Linked DNA regions of Homo sapiens: region 2 is linked to region 1. The links are contacts of gene promoters, found by promoter capture Hi-C in human tissues and cell types (Jung and others, 2019). All regions are on one chromosome and are shown on one strand. Each heading gives the region's core, a stretch centred on a gene start or on the middle of the fragment in contact. The rest is flanking DNA. Distances are from core to core; before and after follow the strand shown.

Evidence for each region. Contacts are between HindIII fragments. The study calls those that stand out against the background at their distance.
Region 2: a fragment that was not itself captured here is called in contact with the fragment with the promoter of ELOVL7 in region 1 in 1 of the 25 tissues and cell types used here (dorsolateral prefrontal cortex).

Annotation. Positions count from the first base shown.
Region 1 is chr5:60,840,893-60,846,372 of GRCh38, reverse strand. ELOVL7 (ELOVL fatty acid elongase 7) reads left to right here and starts at 2,104. Exons shown (of 9, transcript NM_024930.3): 1 at 2,104-2,213. RefSeq lists silencers at 1,883-2,182, 2,203-2,362, 2,373-2,432. The HindIII fragment of the contact is 13,401 bases long and covers 9-5,480 here.
Region 2 is chr5:59,590,421-59,595,900 of GRCh38, reverse strand. The region is part of intron 1 of PDE4D (phosphodiesterase 4D); the gene reads left to right. Among named protein-coding and RNA genes, the nearest start is that of MIR582, 110 kb to the left of the region's middle. The HindIII fragment of the contact is 3,046 bases long and covers 1,807-4,852 here.

The DNA of each region.
Region 1 (5,480 bases), core at 855-3,354:
GGAATGCTGTTACTGGATAGGCACACAGGTGTGTCACCTTACCTGTTCAAAATCTGGGCTGAAATGCCTGCTTCCACTGGGGCCTTCCCTAACCACTTTAACATTTAACACAACTCCCCACCTCCAAAAGTCTCCATCCCCTTCCCTTCTTTATTTTTCTTCATAGCACTTATCAAACCCTGAACATCACATTTTTTTTCTTTTTTTTCCTCTTTTTTTTTTTTGAGACAGAGTCTAGCTCTGTCGCCCAGGCTGGAGGAGTGCAGTGGCGAGATCTCTGCTCACTGCAACCTCTGTCTCCCAGGTTCAAGCGACTCTCCTGCCTCAGCCTCCCAAGTCGTTGGGACTACAGGCACGCACCACCACACTCGGCTAATTTTTGTATTTTTAGTAGAGACGGCGTTTCACTGTATTGCACAGTCTGGTCTCGAACTCCTGACCTCACGATCTGCCCGCCTCGGCCTCCCAAAGTGCTGGGATTACAAGCGTGAGCCACTGCGCCTGGCTGAACACTACATTTTTTTTACTTCTTTATTCATGTATTGTCTGTCATCTCCAACTAGAATGAACGTATAGTCCCTGAGAACGGGGAATTTGTTATCTATTGAAACTTCAGGGCCTGGAACATAGCAGCACTCCAGTATTTGTTAAATAAATGAATCCATTTGAGCTTCTGCATATTTGAAATTTCATAAGTATATATAAATGGTAAATTGTGATAGACTCAAAGGCTAGTATCATTAGGCAATTGTCTCCCGTTCCCAAAAGACTTCCTAAGTCTACTAAATGATCTGTTTTTAATATGAAAGCAAAGTTATCTAAAAGAAAGGAGAAATCTTTAGTTTTTTTGACTTCGAGATTCTTTGCAATTTAAGCTTTTTTTTTTTTTTTTTTTTTTTTTTTTGCTTTTCTTTCAATGGACACTTTCGAAGTTTTACATAAAAACATTAAAACCTCTTGTTTAATGTAGTGGGATTAAGCTGCCGAAGGCAATCCCTACATGTGAGGAAAATATGCTTCCGACACCCCAATTTTTTTTTTCTCCCTACCCATCCTCTCTGGTGGTCCTGACGCTCCCAGCCCCTTTTTGTGTTTCTTGATTCCATGCTGAGAACTCGCAATACAAACTCAAAGCCCACATTTGTGAGGTGGTTGGGTCAGGACTGCAACTAAAAATGATTATTGTTTTTTAGGTTTCTGGACAGTTCAACACCAGCCTTTGGTTTTGCCTCAGAAGCAGGGAACTTCTCTAGGCCCCTATTTTGCCTTTCAGCTATTGATGATCCAAATCATACCAGCGATTAGGAGGATCATTACCAGACACAAGGCCAGGTACGTTTAAAAAATAAATAAACCAAGCGCAGGTGCACACTCCGAACGCTCATCCCCACCCCCACTTTCCAATCCAACAGTAGGTAACGAGAAATGAATTTTCTAGACTTTTTTTCCTGCAGCAGTTGCTGTTACCAGAAACAAAGTTAGATGATATACAATCTAATCTTCATTGCTCTAAAAGTCCTCTCCCCATGCCCCCCAGGCTGCCTCAATTCTCTAGTTTCTTATTCCTTATAAGCAGGGGATGGAGCTGAACCAAGTCGGCCTTCCCCTCCCAGGGCCTTCTCCTCTTGGTCTGGCTTCCATTTCAGATGCGAATTAACCCTCCCAATACCCTTTCAGAAGCAAGGAGTCCCCTTTTTCTCCGCCTCCAGCCTCAGCTAGGTTTTCCTCATTTCGGATTTTTCTACTGCTCATTCCCAAATGAGTCACGCATGACGACAATTTCCACTCTGCTATGTCAGCCTGGAGATGTCCCCCAAGTGATGGCATCTGCTCTCGGAAAGAAAGGTCATCGGTGCCACGACCAGCCCCGCTAACCCAGAGCGGCCGGTGGGCCCCAGTCCCGAGAGTCAGGGCGCGCGGCGGAGGCGAGGCCGGGGCGGCCTCCGCCCTCCCGGCCGCTCCCCCTCGCGCCGCCCCGGCTCCTCCCTCCGGCCCTCGGCGGGCACCTGGCGGCGGCGGGCAGGGGGCGGCGCTGCGCGCGTCACGCGGCTGGGTGGGATAGCGGGCAGGTGACACCCGGCGGCCTCCTCCCCTTTCCAACCCAGTCGGCGGCCGGGACAGCGGGGGCCGCTGTGAGGAGCTCCGCGCTCGCGCTGCCAGTCGCCGCCCTCTCTCCCGCGCGCGCCCGGCGCTTCGGCTCCGCTCCCTGTGCGGTGAGTGCGGGGTTCCAGGCCGGCGGGCAGGGGCCAAACTTTCCCGGCGCGCGGAGGAGAAGAGACTGGGGAGGGAGGCAGAGCCGAGGGGAACGGCGTCGGGAGTGGCCGGATGGAGGAACTTGGGCGCGGCGCGCGAGAAGTGGGACCCGGGTGCGGGGGCCCCGGGAGCGGGGCCAGGCCCTCCCTGGGCTCGGGAGGCGCTTGGGAAGTTCTGTCCCCGCTGCCTGCGCGTGGGGAGGACCGAGGCCCTTTTCGCCGGAGCGCGGGGCCGCGGCGCTCACCTGCGCCTTCTCGGGAGCCCCCACCCGGCAGCATCCCGAAGGGAAGGTCGGGCCCGGTGGGCGCGCTGCGGAGCGGAGCCTGGACTGGGGTCCCGCGCGGCGCTGGCCCTGCGGAGCGGAGCGGGAGGGGCAGAGGTGCTCGCCGGCGGGACTGGGAGGGAGAAGGACCTGCTCGACCTTGGACGCGGAGGTCATTTTCCCAGCTCCGGGGTCTGGCCTCGCTAGCCACCCCCCCAAATTCCGGAGCCCCTTTCTTTCTGTTTCCTTCCTTCCCCTTTGGGCGCTTTTTTTGCTCCCGCGGCCAGATGAACTTGGGGCGCTGTCCCTTCGGCTCCCCGAGCCGCATCCTGTCTTGGTGGCTGCTGCTGGCCGGGAGGAGGCTGATGAATACAGAGCCGTGGAACAGGTCGTGCCGGAGATGGAAACAGGAAAGCCTGTTGTTTTGTCGTCCCAGGTATCGTTGGTTCTTTGGGAAATGGGCTTTCCCAGGTTCGTTGGGAAATGGGCTTTCCCAGGTTCGTTGGGAAATGGGCTTTCCCCCTTCAAGTCAGAGCTGTTTCAAACTTCACCCGGTGCGGACAGAGCGCTCTTTGGAGCTCCCTGGGGAACTCGGGACGGGAAGGAGCGGGTCTTTACACCTGTCCTGCTCCCAGTGTAGTTAGTCCCGCGTCGACTGAAGAACAGTTTTAGCGACCCGAGTTCCTCGCCAGTGGTCTTTTCCCTCTTGCTACGATCTCCCCTCGGAAAGCATGTTCACTTAACCCTGTGCTCTCGGATTACCCTTTATTTCATTCCTCACTTTTATTGCTTACGTGCTCCGAAAGGGTCATCGATACCTGGTGGCTGCCTCTGCGTTCTTACCACGCACCCGCTTATTCATTCCCTTTCTTTGTAGTTTCTCTTCGTACTACTGATCAGAAATTGGTCTCCCCAAGGTCACCGAGAACTAAATAAAATCCACCCCTCACCCCGTGGCAGACATTTATCAGTGCTTAGGTGCCAGGCACTGATGTCAGTTCTTGTGTAAAAGCTTTTAATCTTCACAACGATCCTGGGAAGTAGATATTAATATTATTCTCATTTTAATGATGAGGTAACTGAGGCACGGAGAGGTTAAGTAACTTGCCCAAGGCCACACCCATCTCAGCGGTAGGAGATTCCAGCTCTGGGGTTCTGTCTCCAGCACTGGAGCTGTTAACCACTGTCCTACACTGCCTCACCTAGAGTTCGTTTGCTCGTCCTTATTTTCTGAAGTCCCGTGCTGTTTCAGGCATCGTTGACCAGGCTGTCAATCTCAGGTCCCTCTTTTCCTTCTTATGTGTCTTTATACTAGTTTAGGATCCCCACACCCTCCCCCTGCCCCCGCTTTTTTTTTTTTTAAGAAAAATAGATTTTTGGGACTTTGTTACTTCATCTATCACCTGTATTTATCTGGCTTAAGATTCTGTGCTTTCCATGTCTTCTTCAGTTTTAGTGTAACGTCTGTCAGTGCACATTATAATATTCCGCTTGGACTTGCCCGGCTTTTCCCCAAAACAGCTCCAGATGCTCATTTCCATTAAGGGTCCTGCCATTATCCTGGTCTCCAAGGTGCCGTGCCATTCCTCTCCCATTCGTTAAATATCTTCTATCCAATTTTTACATGGTGTCTTCTAGCCTTTATCAGTCTCGCCCACTCCCATCCTCTCTTCACCACTCTCCCTCTTCCCCACTTTGAACACATATGCCCTTCTCTGCTATTTGTTATCATCTTTTATGTTTGCTTTGCACAAAAAGATTGCAAACAGCTTAGGACATTAAATCTTCAGGCCTTACAGCTAGTAGTTGCTTGATAAATGTAGAAGATGATACAGTATAAATTTTGGTAGCACACATCAGGCAGGTTTGATGATGGAAATTTTTAAGCCAGGTTTTACAGGAAGTTACGGAGTTTGCATTGGTAAACGTGTAGGAGCTGGTAGACATTGTACATGAAGGGGAGAAAAGCCTGTGTTCACTCCATTGTCACAAACAGGTACCCAGCTGTTCTGATGAAACATTACATTTAGAGGTATAATGAAGCAAATCAGCAGAAAACCATTTATCCTTATCTTGACAAAACAAAATATGAAAACACATAAAGTTAAAAAAAAACCTTTTTATTGAAAAACGTAGCACATACATAAAAGTGCATAAAACATAAATGGACAGATTAACACAGTAGATGTATTCAGCAATAGAACGACAGTGTTATTCTGGCCATAGATAGGCTACAGTCAGGCCAAATAGGAATCTTTTCACAAAAACCTGTATAAGGTGAAGTGGGCCTGGACTGCTCCCAAGAGGCATTGCCAAGAAAGAATTGGCTGTGCATGGAGAGGCTTGAGGAGAGAGAAAATAAGACTGGAAATTGGTACCAAAAGGATAAGATCAGGGAGCCAAGAAGAGAGTTCAGACCCACTGAACATAATTCTACCACAATGAATATTTAACCAGGTTGCCTTTGTCTCTCTCTTTTTTTCTATGCATATTTTCCTTCATCATACTCCATATAGTATTTTAGTATTCTCAGGCTGGGCACAGTGGTTCGCCCCTGTAATCCCAGCACTTTGGGAGGCTGAGGCAGGTGGATCACCTTAGGTCAGGAGTTTGAGACCAGCCTGGCCAAAATGGTGAAACCCCATCTCTACTAAAAATACAAAAGTTAGCTGGGTGTGTTGGCACATGCCTGTAGTCCCAGCTACTTGGGAGGCTGAGGCAGGAGAATCGCTTGAACCCAGGAGGCAGAGGTTGCAGTGAGCTGAGATCATGCCACTGCACTCCAGCCTGGGCAACAAAGGAGACTCTGTCTTAAAAAAAAAAAAAAAAAAAAAGGAAAGTAATTTTTTTTAGTATTCTGTGTTTTCCATATAATACCTAGTAAGCATTTTTCATCTTATGTAATTTTCAGAACTCATATTGTTTGTATTCTAGTAATTATAATGTGATTTACTTAACTAAAACT
Region 2 (5,480 bases), core at 2,080-4,579, 1.3 Mb after region 1:
AGAATAATTTCTTAGTTTTACCTGGACCATACAATACATCTACTATGTCCTACTACTGTAGTAGTATATGCAGCGATATACTACTTAAGATTTTTAAAAAGAAATATACAAGCAGACCTAAAGGTGGATCAAAACTAAAGAGTTAAGAATAGAAACATCCAGAGGAATACCCTCTTGAGATCATCTACTGGTAAAAATTCATCACAAGAGTTTTAAAGAGAATAATAACTTTTGTAAGCCCCATCTGATTGAACTGCCTTCCCCAGTAAACCTGTGAGAGTGGAGAGGTTTGAGTATTTTCATGGTAATTTCTTTACCATGTGCCATCTGGCAAATAAAAGAGTTCTTTTCCAGGCAGTACTTTTTACCAAATTCAGAGGTCGGTGAAATATTCTTACAACAACATAAAAATCGGTGGTAAACCCACTATTCCTGGAGGGGAGGAAGACTGGAAAGAAGTATACTGACTTGTCTTTTGGGAATGGAATTATGGATGACTTGCTTCTTTCTTGTGTGTTTATTTTATTTTATTTTTGTATTTCCCATGTTGAACTTGCATGGTTTCCTAAATGAAATAATGTTTCCTCTTTAAAAAGAAACTTTAAATGATATTGAATCTAGTTAAAATGAAACTATGTGATAAGTTTCAGATTTTATAAATAGATTGTCAAAATATGTGTTAAACATTCTTGATAAAATTACATCTTTGCTTCAAGCAATTGTAAAGAAAATGGAATCTATTGACATTACAAATAGCAATTTTAGCATCCATAAATTTGAAATTGTATAAAAATTGTACATATTCTGGGTATAAAATGTTAATGCTTGTCATGTAACTTTGTAAAAACTTTATTTTTTAAAGCATTTTTAGGTTCACAGCAAAATTCACAGAAAGGTCCAGAGATATTCCATTTACTCCAACCCCCACACATGCATAGCCACCCCATTATCAATATCCCCCCCACAAAAGTGGTACATTTTTTTTTACAATTGAACCTACATTGATACATCATTATCTCTAAAACATATAGCTTACATTAGAATTTACTCTTAGTATTGTATATTCTATGGGTTTGCACAAATTTATATTGATGTATATCTTCCATTTTTGTATCATACGGATAATTCCAACATCTCTGGCATGTCTAGTTCTGATGCCTCTTCTGTCTCTTTAAACTGTGTTCTTTGCCTTTAACTATGCATTGTAATTTTTTCTTCATAGCTGGGCATGTACTGGATAAAAGGAACTCCTGTAAATAGGCCTTAAGTTATATGGGTGGGCCAGGCATGGTGGCTCATGCCTGGTAATCCCAGCACTTTGGGAGGTGGAAGCAGGTGGATCACCTGAGGTCAGGAGGTTGAGACCAGCATGGCCAATGTGGTAAAACCTCATCTCTACTGAAAACACGAAAATTAGCCAGTCATGGTGACACATACCTCTAATCCTAGCTACTGGGGAGGCTGAGGCAGGAGAATTGCTTGAACCCGGGAGGCGGAAGTTGCAGTGAGCCAAGATTGTGCCACTGCATTCCAGCCTGAGCTACAAGAACGAAACTCTGCCAAATAAATAAATAAATAAATAAATAAATAAATAAATAAATAAATAAAATAAAAAAGTTATGTGGGTGGTGGTGTGGTAAGGGGCAGTGGAGGGGAAGCTTTCTATCATTCCATAATTAGGTTTCAGACTTTTGGTGAGCCTGGGCCTCTGGATTGTGAATCTCCTAAGTGTTTTTCAGGTTTTTTTTTTCTTATACCATAGGTGAGAGAGAATGGCTAACGTGGGCTGGAATTGAGTATTTCCTTTCTCCTTGATGGTAGGCTAGAGTGGGCTGGAGTTGGGCATTTTTCTTTCCCCAGGTCAGTGAGGCTCTAATATAACAAAACAAAATGGAACAAAAAACCCCAGCAGGTTAGGCTCTGATTAACTAGTTTCTCCTCAGGAAGAACCAAGCTTCAGCAGATTTAAAGATGTGTACTTTTTCCCTTCTCTTGCTGGAAGCATGAGAGAATTTTTCTCCAATATTTACTGTGAGAACTTGGTAGCACTCCTGGAGGTAAAACACACAGAATTGTGGGGACCTCCCTATTACTGGGTTCCTCTGGAGTTTTTCAACTTTCAGACTTGCCTGCACTCAGCCTCTAACGATTTGTCAATTATAGTTGAGGTTTTTCTACCCCAGCACTGGTTCTCTTGGAGGTTTCTGCTCCGGTATGTTGTGATTCTCCATAGCCTACTGTCTATCTCACCAGTGGTTTGGGCAGCAGTTTGCCCTGTGACCTCACTTCTCTTATGGATCTAAGAAGAGTTGATTTTTCAGTTTGTTCAGCTTTTTTGTTGTTAGGACAGATTGGCAACTTCCAAGCTCCTTATGTGAGGAACTGAAAGCTGGATTATGTTACTTTTTTACTGGGAGGTTGAGTGATAGAAGAACTGTCATCAGAAGTTTAATTAAATTATCAATCAGTAACAATCAATTAAATTTCCAGTGAAAGCAAATCTATTTTGGATACATCTAATCAGGATAAATGAAAGAATAAGTGTGCATTCTTACAACATTTCTCTTTTTTTTTTTTTTTTGAGAGCCATTACAGGTGCGAACCACCATGCCCAGCTGATAATATGAGTAAGTTTTGAAGTTGGGCTTTATTTTATTACATGAGAAATATTTTTGCTCCTTTGAATTTTCTAAACAAATATTATACAAAGCCTTTAGAAAAGCTTAAGATATAAATGAAATGTAATTCCATTTCAGAAGGTAGTTTTGACATTACATTATTTGTATTTTTTCTTTTTTTTCCATTTTGATTCCAGTAAATTGCAAAACAAATGATCTGTATTTTATTATATTTTACTAAGCAAATTTTAAAGGTATATGCAAACAACATTTAAAGAGCTCTTCTTATTAAAAAATTTTAAATTATAATAAGTTAAAATTATAATAATCTAAGTGTTTGTATTACTTCCATGCTACGGATAAGGAAATTGTGTCTCACAGAGGTTTCATGCGTTGGTCAAAATTACACAAAAAGTAAAAGGCAGAACCTGAAAATAAGGGTTCACATCTTAGGACTCCAAGATGGTATACACATTTGACTTTTTTGTCTTTAAACTTGCTGTGAACATTTTTCCACTTTTGATTCTTAAGTATAAATATTAAGTGCCTTCTTTGTATTTCAGTATTAGGCTTTTAAGTCTTCTACTTCCAAAAAAAAAATTAAAAGTAAAATTTAACAAGCATTCTAAATATTCCAATTATGAAATATATTTCATATTATGAGATTTTTCTTCTGTAAAAGAATTTATCATTTAAGATTAGAAGATTTAACCTTGAGGAGTATGATCCAAAATGGCTTTTTATATTAGTTGAATCATGAAAAGTCCCAACAAAGCATTTGCTGGTTTTAGGTGATGAAACTAGGTGTTTAATGAATTTATTTTTTCTTTTCTAATTGGTGATTGTACCCTGGGTTATGAGAATATGTAGAAATTGAATGTAGTAGCTACTAGCAACTTGCTGAAACATGATGCATTTCCCTGACTCTCAGCAACTGAAACTGCGGCTTCATGAAAGGCTTCTCGTATTTCAGTTATAAATGTTCAGAACAGCATGCCTTCAGACTTTGCTAGAACTTGCCAGGAGTGGAAAGTCATGACTATCAACATCGTTATTAGTTAACATTGACTGAGTACCAACAATGTTTTTGGTGTTATAAATATAGAGAAGAAGACACTGTTCTGTTCCTGGGGGATTGGCTTTCTGTAAAGGTGAGATAGAGAATTTGGTCTTGAATGTTCTTTTCTTGCTGGGAGGTGGGGTTGGAAGCACAGCCACCTCAGGTCTCATTCTGATGGCACACTCACCTCTTTATTAGTTGATGATATATGCAATAAAAAGAAAAAAATGTATAATTACACATACATACACACATGTGAAAACTCATGTAAATTTTATTTTTTATTGGTAAAAAATATATATTTATGGGGGGAGCTTGAGGCAAAAAGTCACATCCTGCAAGATATCCAGGTGACAGTAGCTTCTATATCCTTGTGTATAATGTATTTATACTGTTATTAATAGTATATAGAATGTGCTAAGAAAAGTACATAGAAGTTTTTGTATGTGTAAATATATTTATATGAACCCAATATGTAGAATACAGGGACCAAGTGTTTTGTTTTTGACATCTAAGGGACAAAAGTAATCCAGCCTCTTGAAAGAATGGAGACTTTCCAAAAATATCTGAACTGATTATTGGTATTCATATAAGATAAATAAGTCATCTTTTAGGTCTTTATTCTTTGATGTCTAAATATACAGGAGTTTTATTTCATCAAGTTATTTAAGAGGCAAACATTGACATTAGCTATTGATTATACCAAAATGCAATGATGACAAAAAAATATACCTTAACATTTGACATTAAAGTTACTTTCTGAAAGTGAAACTCAGGGAAAATCAATGAAGTAACTCATCACACCCTCTGATAAGTACAAGTGACTAAAGAGTCTAGGAAATACCCAACCTCAGGAACTAGGGTGTGACTTTATTATACTATGCTTATACTAGCATAAAGGTTGAACTTAATCATTCTTTTATGCTCATTGTGAAGGAAGTGTGTAAGTTGAAGGCATTTTAAGAGGATGAAATACTGAAACTGATATTACAGAGATAAGAATTTGTGTAGAAAGTATTAATTCTGTATTTCTACTGTTACATTTTTGTAATTTTTTTTAAAGAGCCAGACTTTTTTTGTATGTATTATCAAACTTTGAGATAAAACTAGTTAAAGCAGAAGAGCTCTTGTTGAAACAGCACAAAGTACCTGGCTTCCTAGACCCAGCACAAAGTACCTTGCCCCTCAGCTGACCTGATGCAACTTTGAAAAACCATAGGGTTCCCAGAAACTTAGTTTGAAAACCTTCACTCTTATGAGCATAACCCTATAACCATGAGAGAAAAGGGTTTTATTGGAAAAGGACGTGGGACACCGGCTAGTTAATACTTCTGGCTCTGATTCTGGATGCATTAAGCGATCTTTCAATGAAAATGTTGAAAGTATTTTGGTTTGCTCTGAGTTTGTAGTTTATCAATTAATTGAGCTTTTTATTGAATCAGCCTCATTTAAGGGTAGTTAATATAAGTTCACTTACTCTTGTGCTTGCTGTGGGATTAAAATTTAAAAAAAAACACAAAACAAAACAACAAACCAGTCTTTGCTCTAGTAGAGCTGAGGTTATGCCATAGCTGCAGGGACTTCACTGAGGTTATGCCAATTTGTGGTGCCCTGCTAATAATTCGCACTCCTGTATTGATAAAAATAATGGGGCTGAGATTAGCCATAAAGATAATCTTTTATGGTTACTCCTGATATTTCTTTTTAATTTTTTTAGAGACAGAGTCTATGTTTCCCAGCCTGGTCTTGAAATGGGCTCAAGTTATCCTCCTGCATCAGCCTTCCAAGTAGCTAGGACTACA